Regions from separate parts of the Homo sapiens genome. Here region 2 is linked to region 1. The links are contacts of gene promoters, found by promoter capture Hi-C in blood cells and fetal thymus (Javierre and others, 2016). All regions are on one chromosome and are shown on one strand. The core of a region is centred on a gene start or on the middle of the fragment in contact, and the rest is flanking DNA. Distances in the headings are between cores, read along the strand shown. Region 1 holds the start of F2RL1 (F2R like trypsin receptor 1). Region 2 overlaps IQGAP2 (IQ motif containing GTPase activating protein 2).

Region 1 (6,490 bases), core at 2,359-4,858:
ACAGATTTACTAAAACATCATCTATCAAGGTTATTTAGTAACTACAAAGCAAGCAAAAGGATCAAATTTAAAGTCCTATCTTCCAGTTCATTGCAGTGTTCTGTCATATTACAAAACTTTGGCCAGGCACGGTGGCTCATGCCTATAATCCCAGCACTTTGGGAGGCTGAGGCAGGTGGATCACTTGAGGTCAGGAGTTCAAGATCAGCCTGGCCAACGTGGCGAAACCCCGTTTATACCAAAAACACAAAAATTAGTTGGATGTGGTGGTGTGCGCCTGTAGTCCCAGCTACTCCAGAGGCTGAGGCATGAGAATCACTTAAACCTGGGAGGCAGAGGTTGCAGTGAGCCGAGATCGTGCCACTGCACTACAGCCTGGGCAACAGAGTGAGATTCTATCTCAGGGGGAAAAAAAAAATGGAAATACCACATGTCTATCAACAAAGGACTAATTTTAAAATTGATGCATCCTTCTGTAACATTTTGGAGTCATTAAAAATGTTTTATATGTATTGACATGATACTGATGTGCTTATATAATCCCATACTTGCACAAACATATTTTCTGTATTTGTGAATACATATTTTGTGCATGGATGTAATAAAGAGTGGGAAAATATATAAGCCGAAATATTAGCGGTGGCTACTTTGGTACTGAAGTTCAGGGTGATTTAATTAAATGTTTCCTTTTTTTGTTTTGGCTCATTTTTCCCTCGAGTGATCACATATTGTTTTTATAATTTAAAAAACAATTATAGGTAGGGCGCAGTAGCTCATGCCTGTAATCCCAGCACTTTGGGAGGCTGAAGGTGGGTGGATCACCTGAGGTCAGGAGTTTGAGATCAGCCTGACCAATATGGTGAAACCCTGTCTCTACTAAAAATACAAAAATTAGCTGGGGGTGGTGGTGCGTGCCTGTCGTCCCAGCTACTCGGGAGGCTGCAGCAGGAGACTTCCTTGAGCCCGGGAGAGGTGGAGGTTGCAATGAGCCAAAATTGCACCACTGCACTCAAGCCTGGGCAACCGAATGAGAGTCAAAAAAAAAAAAAACCCAAAAAACCAAAAAAACAAAAAAAAACCACCAAACCAATTATAAAGAAAACAGAAGTTCCAGTCTCCAAAAGATAAATGGAATGACCTAGGCCTGTAACATGGTGGAAAAAAATAAGTAAGTGGCAGAGAGAAGCTGACTGAAATGAACACCACATGGACCAGCCAGGGTACTCTGGGCAAGACTCCTCACTTCATTCATTTGCTATTTACTGAGGTCCCGTAGGTGATGAGACTATGCTAGACGTGATGGAAAGGATGGTAGGGCCCCCTGCCTCCAGGAGTTAACGATGCAGTGAGGACACATATTAAGCATGTTTACCCAAATAATTATCAATTACTATTGTAAAGGGAAAGAGAAGCCCTGATTTCCAAGTGTTTTCCTTGCCTTGCCTCCTCAATTCAGTGTCCTTCACCTGTACCCTGAGAAGGTTGTGATCTCGGCTGAGTTCGTTTCTATGAGGCAGTCTTTTGGAGTGAGGCTTTGGGAAGAAAATCAAACCCCAAATCGGCCCTGCAGCCACCTGAGGGGCACGCAGAAGGACCGGCTAAAAAGCGAGTGAGCAAAGACCCACCCTGAGGGCAGAAAAGCTTTGCTAACACTGTATTTCTTATTAAAATCAATTTAGTTTTAAGGTGGGAGGAAAGCTCCATCTGCCTAAATCAATTGTCAGTGTTACTTCACTAACCCTTTGGGAAAGTTACTTTGCAAGGGAATAAAAGTATGGTGGGGGGAGGATGAGGAACAAGGTGCAATATTAAGTGGCTATAGTTAACAAGTAACCTGATTTTTCCTTATTGTTAAATCAAGTTCGCCTTATAATCCAGGGATCTCCCAATCCCCCAAGAGTAGTAAACAAGAACAAGACAAATAATCGGGGCATGCTTCCTACAGGGATCTCTGAATCATAAAGATGTTGAATCAGCTATACCAACATGTATTTTTTTAAAGTTTGCACATACTAACCTTTGCTCCTGAATTTTAAGTTTCCAACTTTAAAGGACATAGAGGAGAGGTGTCCATTACAGTTTTCAATACTTCCTGGAACTAAATGCCTTTATTCTGATGCTGATTAAGAAAAAAAAATATACCAGCGGTGCACAGTTTTCAAGCTTACACCATTAACACCCTTTTCCCTAACTGCAGAGGGAAAAGAATCACATTCTTCCATCTAATTCCAACCCACTGTGACTTGCTCTTTTACTTCGTCTTTATGAAGAGGAGGATAAAAGTGAGAAATGCGCATTTCTGAGGGAAATTAAAAGCTCCCTTTGCTACCCAGGCTGCCCCAAACAGAGGGGCCTCGGTTAGGATCACAGTGGCGCGATCGCAGGTCAAACATCCCCCACGGCCACAGCGAGGCCTGCTGGGCCCGGAAGAACACACTCCCAGCAATACAAGTTCGAGCACACCCGGAGCAGCACATCCAAGGAACGCGACGGCCGGGCGCAAGTGCTGCTCTGTTCCCAGGCCAGCCAGCCTCTGGCCTGCAGACCTGGGTGGCAGCCAGTGGCCGCTCCGGGTGGCACACTAGGAAAGTCCCGGAACCCCAGGCCCAGAGGGTCAACTGGTCAAATATAAGGCAGGGTCCAAAAAGTTCCGCTCGTAAATCCTCGTGGCGCCCAACGGGCCTGAGCGCTCATTACCACCAGAACCCATCAGGGACCGGCCCTGACTTTCATACCCCGGGCCTTCCACTGTGGGTGCCAGGAGCAGCGGGACCCGGGTGGGTCTCGAACGCAGGGGCCAGAACCCGAAGAAAGGCTTCCAGCAGTTGGAGAGGGACGCAAAAAACAACCTAGAAGGCTCCCGGGCCGCGGGTTCCCACCCACTCCGCCCTGCCCTGCGCAATCAGCTCGCTAACCCCACCGGCCCCGCGGGGCCAGCGGAGGAAGTCTCCGGAGTTGGCAAAAAGCTCTTAATGACTTAGTGTTTACAAAGCAACCAAGCCCGGGGAGGGGACTAGGTCCTCTGCGTACCCTTTAGACACAGCTACTCCTTCCTTCCCTCCCTTTCCCCGAACCCACGCTGGGGCCTGGAGGTGCCCAGCATGACAGCCTCTACGGGAAGTGGGGTCTTTGGGGAAATCTCTGCCTCTGCCCGGCTCCGCTGACTTCAGCTGCTCCCGCATGTCCCACCTGGGTGCCTCCTTGGCGCAGAGACCTCACATCAAAGCCACCAAGGGGAGGCTAAGGGATTCGTAGAGATGGGTGCCGGCAGCAGAACAGCCTTCGCACACCTGCCCGGATCCCACCGTCTGCCCAGCGTGCCCAGGACCCCAGCTCCTCAGAGATAAGAGCCCTCCTTGGCCAGGTTTCTCACCTTGGATGGTGCCACTGCAGGAGAGAGAGGCTGCTAGCAGGATGGCGGCCCCCAGCAGCCACGCCGCGCTGGGGCTCCGCATCCTCCTGGAAGCCCCGACGCCGGGCGCGCGGGGAATCCGCCGCCGCCGATTCGAAACTCAGAGCTCCACTGGACGCACCGAGAGAAAGTCAGCCTCTCACCTGCCCCGAATCGGAGCCTCTGCTGCGCGCCTCCCCAGGGCGGGTTAGGTTTCAGGGAAACCGAAGGAGCAGCGTACTCACCTGCGGGAGGCCACGCCCCGGGACCGGAACGCGCGCCCTGGTCCCGCCCCCGGCCCCCTTCCCTGCGCAGCTGCGCCCTCCGCTTCCCGGACTCGCGCCAGGTCCCTTAGACTGCGGGAGCCGCCTGCGGGCGGGGTTGAGCGCATGAGGTGTCTGCTTTGGAATGCAAATAGCAGGAGCGCTGGGACCACGGGTTAATCCCTGCCTAGGCTATACCGCGAACTACCTTTAATCTTTACTTACTCCTAGAGAAGCGGGTCGTCGGTCTCCCTTGCCTTTCCTGACTGTGGGAAAGCCACGATTCGTACTCACTGCAATTGTGGTTGGTAACTGATACAGACAGGGCTTCCCGGTGCGGTGGACCCTGCAGGAGGAGGGATGCGTTTTTTATTGTAGAGGCAGGTGGGCAACTGCGGACATCACGAAAGCGGTGGGGAGCACAAGAGGCGGGGCGGGAAAGAAGACATGGAATGGCTACTTTCAGCGCCAAGTGCCAAAGCTTTAGAGAATTATCTTGCTTAATCCCCATAACAACCAGCGCAATAAGTATGATTATTCTTCCCATTTTACAGACGAGGAAAGTGAGCTTAGAAAGACCAGATAAATTGGCCAGAGTTACACGACTTATAAACACAGTGTATAAATGTTTATCACATTTCAACTCCAGTATAAGACTATCACTGTCTTCTATTCATCGCTGCACTATAAATGCGTCCACCAGGGCTCCTCTGCATTGGGATCCCATAGGCTAAATAAATACAAAAGCAGATAGAAGGGGTGGGAGAAGAGAAGTGTGGGGTTGGGGATGAGTGCATGAGGGTTGGCATCATATTGGTAATGTCTTACTTTTTGTTTTTGAGACGGAGTCTCGCTCTGTCTCCCAGGCTGGAGTGCAGTGGCGTGATCTCGGCTCACTGCAAACTTTGTCTCCTGGGTTCAAGCAATTCTCTGGCCGCAGCCTCCCGAGTAGCTGGAGTTACAGGCGTGCACCACATCTGGCTAATTTTTGTATTTTTAGTAGAGGCGGGGTTTCACCATGTTGGTCTGGCTAGTCTCGAACTCCTGACCTCGTGATCAGCCCACCTCCGCCTCCCAAAGTGCTGCGATTACAGGCGTGAGCCACCGCACCCAGCATGTCTTACTTTTTATTTGCTTTTTAAAAGATTGAATAAAACAAAGTCTACTGTTACCCATTTAAACTATTGGTACCAGAAGAGCACAGAAGAGAGACATAGGTATTTTCAAATATTTAAAGGATTCGCTTGTAGAAGAGGATTTAGATGTGTTTTGAGTTGCTCCAGAGAGCAAAAATTGGTGGAAGCCACAGTGGGGTTTAATTTCAGCTCAATGTATAAAGAAATTTTCTTTATTTTTTATTTTAATTTCTATTAGAAAATAGAAGTGGGGTCTCCCTATCTTGTCCAGTCTGGTCTGGAACTCCTGGCTTCATGTGATCCTCCCCACTCAGCCTCCCAAAGTGCTGGGATTACAGGAATGAGCCACCACACCCGGACAGGCTTCTCCCCTTGTTGACATCTGTGTGATCCCAAGTTTACTTATCCTCTCTAAGCTTTCTTATAATATATATATATATACACACACACGTGGTTTAAAGGTTTATAGGTGTCTGTCTGAGGATAAAATAGTGACTAGTGACTGGGTTTGATACATGGTAGAAGCTCAATAAATATTTTTTGTTTATTTCCTTTCTCTGAGGAGTCTTCATACTCCACCTGCACCCCAGCTCTCACCTCAGCCCATGCCCACTTTTCCTCCCAGGAAAAGCTGACTTCTAGAAGCAGAACAGGAACCTTTGACATCCTGAACAGCGGACAGCTCTCCTGATAGGGATCAGGCCATTCCTGAAGGTCCCTCCCCAGGGGAGATAACTGATTCCTAAGATGTCCCTTCAAACTTTTCAAGCATCCATTTCCTCATCTGTAGCTTATTAATATTACATCTATCATCTGGGAATGATACTAGTACCTCTCTCGTAGGGTGGTTGTGAGGATTCACTTTGCTAAATGTCCATAAAGCACTTCTTAGTACCGTTTCTGGTATATAGTAAGCACCTAAGAAATGGGAACTGCTATAGAATGACTGCCTTTAAGGTGGAATCTTCCTCTTTCAGAGAACAATACATCAGGGTCCAGCTGCTTTCGATTTAAATTTTCACTGTATTTTATGGGAATATGCCTTGAATCATCACAATTTCCAATAAAAGACTTTATTGAACAATGCTATGAGTTAATTATCTCAAAAATGTGGTTTCTTCCCCCAGCCTGACTAAATGAACTAAACTCACTTGAGTCAGTTTGCAGGTGTTTTTCTGTAATTTTGGGAGTATAGTATTTGTTTTTCAGGTGTTGATGACTCCTTCGCCCTGAAGGGATTGGAGTATTGTATGGCTGTGTGGAACAGTACAAAGAAATGACCACAGGCAACTAGACTGCCTGGCTTCCAGAGATTAGGAACCTTCTGCAATCTTCCACCACCTACAATTCCAAAGAGGAGTTTAGACATTGAGGGAAAAGGTATTTCATTCAAATAATTTGTCAAACTCTTCCTGGAGAAACAAAGTCCCAAGTTACTGGGTCCTAATCAAATATAGTTGGAGAAAGTTACACTCATTTATTCACTGATTCATTGAGCACTCACTCTGGACAAGGTTAGTAATGAAATCCACATGGTAAGTCCTATGGTCCTCTTTCAGTCCTTTCTCAGTTACTCAGCCTAGCTGTAGAATTGGACACGATTGATTTCTCCCTCTTTCTGGAATGCTCTATTCACTTGGCTTCCAGGCCCACTCTTCTCTTGATTCTCCATCTGTCGCATTAGCAACTCAGAAGTGGGT
Region 2 (6,490 bases), core at 2,733-5,232, 220 kb after region 1:
AGACATTCATTCTTCGTTCCTGTTGTTTCTCAACTATGACACATGGTCAAACATAGTTGTTATGAAGTTAGACAAAGAGTAGAAAGGCAAATAAAATTGTCTTGTGTAGCTCTGTCAACATATACCAGGCTTACTTGTACTAATGGTGTTTTCTTAAAGTATTTTTATGAACAAATTCTGTTAATGAAAGCTCTTCAAAATCGAAACTCATACCTAACTCAAGCAAAACTGGAAACTTTCAAGTCTGTGAAATTACTTTTCCCTAGTTACTAATTTTCCTCCCCTTTGTATGTCTTGGTTCTTCTCAGTCTTCAGATGATTGTTACAGGGCAAAATTCAGAGTTACTATGGGTCTCAATCTTTCTATCATCAAGTGTCCTTTTCATTATTTCTCTTGTTCCTTCCAAAATCTAAGTTTTAAAAGACCTTTTCTACTACAACCCTAATATAGAGCCACTTTGAGGCCTAATATGACACTGAGGAATCAGATAACATGCAAATGCAGTTCCAGAAACCTTGCTGAGTAGCACAATCTTTACCGTATGTTGTCCTGAAGAGGTGGCACATGAGTTAAACCAGGATATACTGAAATTCCTTTTCACCTGCCCATTTCTCCAAAGGCTCCTAGCCAATACTCAAAAATCTCTCTTAGGCCTGGCGTGGTGGCTCACACCTGTAATCCCAGCAATTTGGGAGGCTGAGTGAGAGGATCGTTTGAGCCCAGGAGTTAAAGACCAGCTTGGGCAACACAGGGAGACTCTGTCTCCATAAAAAAATAAAATTAAAATTAAAAATGGCCCTCTCACCCATTGTTTATGACCAATGACCCTTCTCACTGTGCATAGCCCTCTGGAAGATACAGTTTAGTCAACCACTCCAATTACTTTTTTTCTGCCTGGGGAAATTTCAGGGAAAAACTTACTCATACTGATATATTAAGAAACTTTTACTTCTCAATTATCAATTTTCCCACTTTCCAATTTTCACAGAACCAATGTTACAACCATAGGCTAACATGAACTATTCCAGCGAAAATTAATAAAACTAGATAGTTTAGTGTGCTTTTATGTCTTTGCACCAGGGCAATGAAGAACAATCTTCTGTGTACATAATGAGTCACTCTGCAGTTTGAATTCTGAATAGTCTCTAGGGATCTAGTAATGGCAGAGGTTAAAAGAAGAAACATTATATGAAGTCTAAAACTGTTTTCTTGGTTGTGACAAACTTTTTCAAAATTCTGCATGCTTCAAGGTGACATGCGGTGTCTTCCATAGAGAGTAGCTTGAGAGAAAAACATTCAAAAATAGGAAATGGTGGTAACAATTTATTTTCTGTAGCTGAATGAGGCCTCGCCAAGTGCAGATGTGAAATACACTAGTAATGTATAATAAATAATACTGACCACAATAACGATTTGGATTATCGGTAACTTGCACTGGTTAGTGTCCCTCACAGATGGAGACCATTCCAAAAGCGCAAAGTCCTTATGGGCATCCCATACACTTAACGTCTAAATGCTGACCCAACAGGAGTGAAATGAGAAAGTAAAAAATAAACACAGAAAGAAATACAACTACCCATCATTTCTTTAGAAATGAACAAAAACAAGCTATAAAGGAAAAGATTTTAAAAGTAACACCATTTGACCCAGTAATCCCATTATATGATTATAAATCATTCTACTATAAAGGCACATGTACCTGTATGTTTATGCGGCACTGTTCACAATAGCAAAGACTTGGAACCAACCCAAATGTCCATCAATGATAGACTGGATAAAGAAAATGTGGCACATATACACCATGGAATACTATGCAGCCATAAAAAAAAAGGATGAGTTCATGTCCTTTGCAGGGACATGGATGAAGCTGGAAACCATCATTCTCAGCAAACTAACAGGAACAGAAACCAAACAACACATGTTCCCACTCATAAGTAGGAGTTGAACAATGAGAACATGTGGTCACAGGGAGGGGAACAACAACATACACCGAGGCATGTCAGGGGGTGGGGAACTAGGGGAGGAATAGCATTAGGAGAAATACCTAATCTAGATGGTGGGTTGATGGGTGCAGCAAACCACCATGGCACTTGTATACCTATGTAACAAACCTGCATGTTCTGCACATGTATCCCAGAACTTAAAGTATAATAATAAAAAAAAATTTTTTTTAAAGTAACACAAGAGAACTCCACAGGCTTTTCCAATTGAGTATTTCTCTCCAGTACTGAAGTTACCAACTTTGGGAAATATTCCGTAGTTTCCCCAAACAGGTCAATGTCCTCTCCTCTCACTCCTCTCAGTTCTCTTCACCTCATCTATGGACAGACTAGTAAGGAGTCTACTAATCTAAGAGCCCTGGGAAGCTCTGAGAAGATCAGTAATCCAATTTAGTTCAGCAGATGTTTGTGAGCACTTACTACATGTAAAACATGGCAGGCACTACAGGAATATTAGGAGGAAAAAGGTGCAGCCTTTATGCTTTCAGACCAGTGGGTAAGACGACAAAAATTCCAAAAAGGTATAAAAGCAGAGCACAGGAAGGACCATTAAAGAGTCCATAAGAGTAGATATAATGGGGTTCAAAGCAAGAAGTGGAAGGAAACCCTTATTGGTGGAGCACCCTCCCTGGGACAGGCACTGAACCAAACACTAAATCCTCAAAACAGTTCTGCAAATGCAGAGTGGGGCTTTTGTTTCTTTTGTTTTTGTGCTTTATAGATGAAGGAAAAAGGCTTAGTTAGGGAGGGTCAATCTCAGATATTTTTGGTTCCAAGGCATATGCTCCTTTAACCACATCATGCTACCTCCCAGGAGAGATAACATCAGATGCTAGGGTGGGGAGAAGCACGGATATACCTCACAGAACATAATGTATGGTAGGCAGGGCTCAGAAGCTCCAATACTGTGTTTAGCTGAGCTGGGTAAAGGCACCAAGTTCCTGATGGTGAGAGGACCACGCATAGGAACACAGAGACCAGAAAGTACACTTGGACTTGGCTAAAGCACAAAATACGAGTAGGGATGGAGCTGGAGGTAAGGTCAGAGCAACATGCTTAGAATGAGAAGTCTGTTCTTAATTCGGATGTGAACAAGGAACAATCAAACAGAATTATGAATAGGGTTACATTTTAGAACAGTTAATCTGGGAACAGTGTATGCCCAAGGCTAATGTTAACCCATACAATACTTTTGTGAGAATTAGACAAAAGAATCTCTCTGGGCAAACACAGCCCCAAGAGTAGAAGCCACGGTGAACAGGGAGAGACTTTGCATGAATTTGTCAAGGTGGCCATGCACAGCACACTTGTGCTATGAAGAACCTGCACTCTATGGGGAGAGGCCCTGGACAGAGCCGTGTTTCTCAAACTTGATAATCTGCAAAACTGGGATTCCAAGATCCCAAGTTAAGATGCTGACTTTGGAAGTAAAATGCCAAGGCTGTAGAAGATCATTTGGGGCCAATACAAGTGTCAATACAAGAACCCAAGTGGGCCCTTAAATCCCATGTCAGTACTGGGTCTTCCAGATCCAGAATGTATTTAAATTAAAAAAAAAAAATCAAAACATTTTAAAAGTTCTTCACACAGAACACTCGAACTGTGAGGCTCCATCTGTAGGTCCCAGCTGGAAACTACAGGTATGAATATGGTTTTCAAATAGAATGGGACCACTTCTTTAAGGGTATTTGTAAATGAAGAAGCAGGCATTTTTGATAATCAGAATGGGTGAGTCAGGGGCTAATGTCATGTGGAGGACAGTTGCCAGGGATGCTAAATATGTGGAATAGTCTTGACAGTTATCTCACCAAGATGCCCCATTAGCCTGTAAGCTTCATAAGGGATTGACCGGGTCTGTCTTCTACTCTAGCACTGAGAAAGTATGGCAAAGCCTGGTTAGGTAGGAATGATTAATGAATGGGGAGAGAAAAGAAGTAGGATGACCAATTTAGGGGTTACTACAGAAGCAAAAGTGAGAAGTCTAAGTGAGGGTGGTTGCAGGGAAATGGAAACATCTTGCAGAGGTATAAGGCACATAGACTGGCTACTGACAGCAGGCTCTTTAGAGCACGAGGGTGCCCGGCTGAGGGCAGAGGGAAACTCAAATTGGGCTTCAGGTTTCTAAGCTTACAGGAGAGAATGGTGCCATTAACAAGTAACAGAAACAGTGGTGGTAGATATAAATTACCTTGGAAACACACTCTAAGGAGTCATATGAACCAGATGGCCAAATTTAAGTAGAACAAGAGAATTAGTTTCTCCAAAAAGACTAAAAACAAGGAAAACCCACCATCCTTCCATTACCTTTTGGCCATTCACTACATAGACAAGTGGTCAAATACCATTTGTTTAACCTAAGAAATCTCTGGTTTTTCCTTGGCAACTGTACATGACCCAAGAGAATTAGCCAACCTGCCTATTAGAGCCGTTCCAAAATCAGTAGCTGAAAAGAGCTTTTGTCAAGATCTGTGCAGACATCTCCCCCTGGTGGTTACAAGAATCCAAGATTCACTCATTTTAACTGGGGCTTTTATCTCAGCGACTCTCTCATCTGGCTCCCAATTCTGGCCATTTGATTTTCTCTCAAGATCCGCTATAGTGTTTTATAACAATGCTATCAGTTGTACTATCTGGTAGCACACTTCAGAAACATGAAATGAAAGATAAATGGATGTTGTTACCCACTGCCATGACCCACTGTGGTCTCAGGATTTCTTTGGCTTAATAATCAGAAGAGTGGAGTTTGGGGCCCAACTGCCCAATTTTAGGTCCATAACCCGGATTCTGTTTCTGCATCAGTGACATAAAAGAATTGGACTGGATGATTATTAAAGTTGCTTCCAACTCTTCTACATTCTGCGGTTTCCAAAAGACGCCCAAGGAAAGGTATGTTTCCAATAGTTCCTTTATTTTCAGCCTATCAAATAATCTTTGCCAACGACAAAGTCATTTATTAATTGCCACAGGATGATCACTTTCTGATTCTTCTTGTTCCCCAGAAGGAATACTGTAAACAAGGATACTAATTAGAAGGACTCTTAAAACAGACTAGTTTTCAAGAAACATGAGCATGGTATATGGATTTCTCCACCAACAGGCAAATTCCTCACTTTTAAGATCTGCCAAACATGCATTTCTGCATTGAAAGAAGGTTTGGAAAATGTTCCTTACCGTTCCACATATGCCTTGTCCAGATTGTTTAAGCCTATTGCGGGGCTTCTGAGTTGATTCTGCACAGACACAAGATCGTTGCTTTCCAAGGCCTGGTTTAGTAAAGCAACAGCAGACAACATTTCCACAGCAATCAAAAGCTCCTCGTGGGCCAAGTAGTTCTGTTGGAAAACATATGGCAACATAAGCTCCCCACACAACACACCTCATGTGCATGATGGAGGTTTACAATGCACATTTCAACAAACAACAAAAAGTCAAAGAACTTGATAGCTCAGCAGAAAGAGGAGTCGTGGCCACCTGCTTTCCACTGGCTTTAAGAACAGGTATATGGCTCCTGGGCTTTCATTAGATGATCATTTTTTGGGACTGGGTTGATTACAATGAAAAGTTACGATTCCACAAATATCTGCATTCCCATTGCTGATCCCTACTCCTAGCTATACTGGTTGCTTAAAGGCTCAGTCCAGCCATATAATTAAGCCAAGGACTAGATAACATTGTCACTGACTGAGAGTGCCAGGTAACATTTTAGCACAGCTAACGATTTCCAGTTTGAATTAAGGGTTAAGGGAAGGTTGGGAGAATTTCACTGAAAAGTTATAATCTGAAGCACAAAGCAAGGTCTTCAAACCAAGACTACTGATTTAATTCAAAAAAAGTTAAAGTGACATTTTCATAAATTTTAAAATAGAAATTTTAAAATACACTACCAGGTCAAGATATTTGAAGAAATCTGAGGTGATCTTTTGGTAAAGCAAGTAAAGCTCTCCAGGTTTTTTTGTTTGGTTTGGTTTGCTTTATTTTTATTATTATTATTTTTTGAGATGGAGTTTGGCTCTTGTTGCCCAGGCTGGGGTGCAATGGCACGATCTAGGCTCACTGCAGCCTCCGCCTCCCAGGTTCAAGCGATTCTTCTGCCTCAGCCTCCCAAAGTGCTGGGATTACAGGCATGAATCACCACACCTGGCCAGATCTCCAGGTTTATATGATTTAAAATCTGGATTTAGCTTATCCAAAAAAATACGTCTTAGATTTCAGAACACCCTTCCCCTTTAATATCTTCTTCCATTTAACCATTTTATATTATCTTGGCCCAACTTCAAAAGGAATATTTTTTTCATCATATTGAAGGGACATAAGGAGCAGGAGCATGAAAAAGAACCACTAAGGAAAAGCTGATACATATTTTACATTTAGGATATTACAGGTATTTAATATATAACATAATGTTCATCTTAAAATGCATTATTATATCTTTCTGGATCTCCACAGAAGTCTCGCAGCAAACTGATTTCAGAATAAAAAGGGATAGTTT

Evidence for each region. The method cuts DNA at HindIII sites, captures the fragments that hold promoters and counts their contacts. A CHiCAGO score of 5 or more calls a contact.
Region 2: a fragment that was not itself captured here is called in contact with the fragment with the promoter of F2RL1 in region 1 in 1 of 17 cell types (endothelial precursors); the score reaches 5.2 in endothelial precursors.

The regions. Positions count from the first base shown.
Region 1 is chr5:76,816,148-76,822,637 of GRCh38, reverse strand. It overlaps F2RL1 (F2R like trypsin receptor 1), which reads right to left and starts at 3,608. Exons shown (of 2, transcript NM_005242.6): 1 at 3,374-3,608. The coding sequence starts at 3,455. RefSeq lists enhancers at 2,657-3,274, 3,275-3,892 and a silencer at 3,580-3,874. The HindIII fragment of the contact is 1,972 bases long and covers 2,166-4,137 here.
Region 2 is chr5:76,599,655-76,606,144 of GRCh38, reverse strand. IQGAP2 (IQ motif containing GTPase activating protein 2) reads right to left here. Exons shown (of 36, transcript NM_006633.5): 11 at 5,173-5,333. Among named protein-coding and RNA genes, the nearest start is that of F2RL2, 21 kb to the left of the region's middle. The HindIII fragment of the contact is 294 bases long and covers 3,836-4,129 here.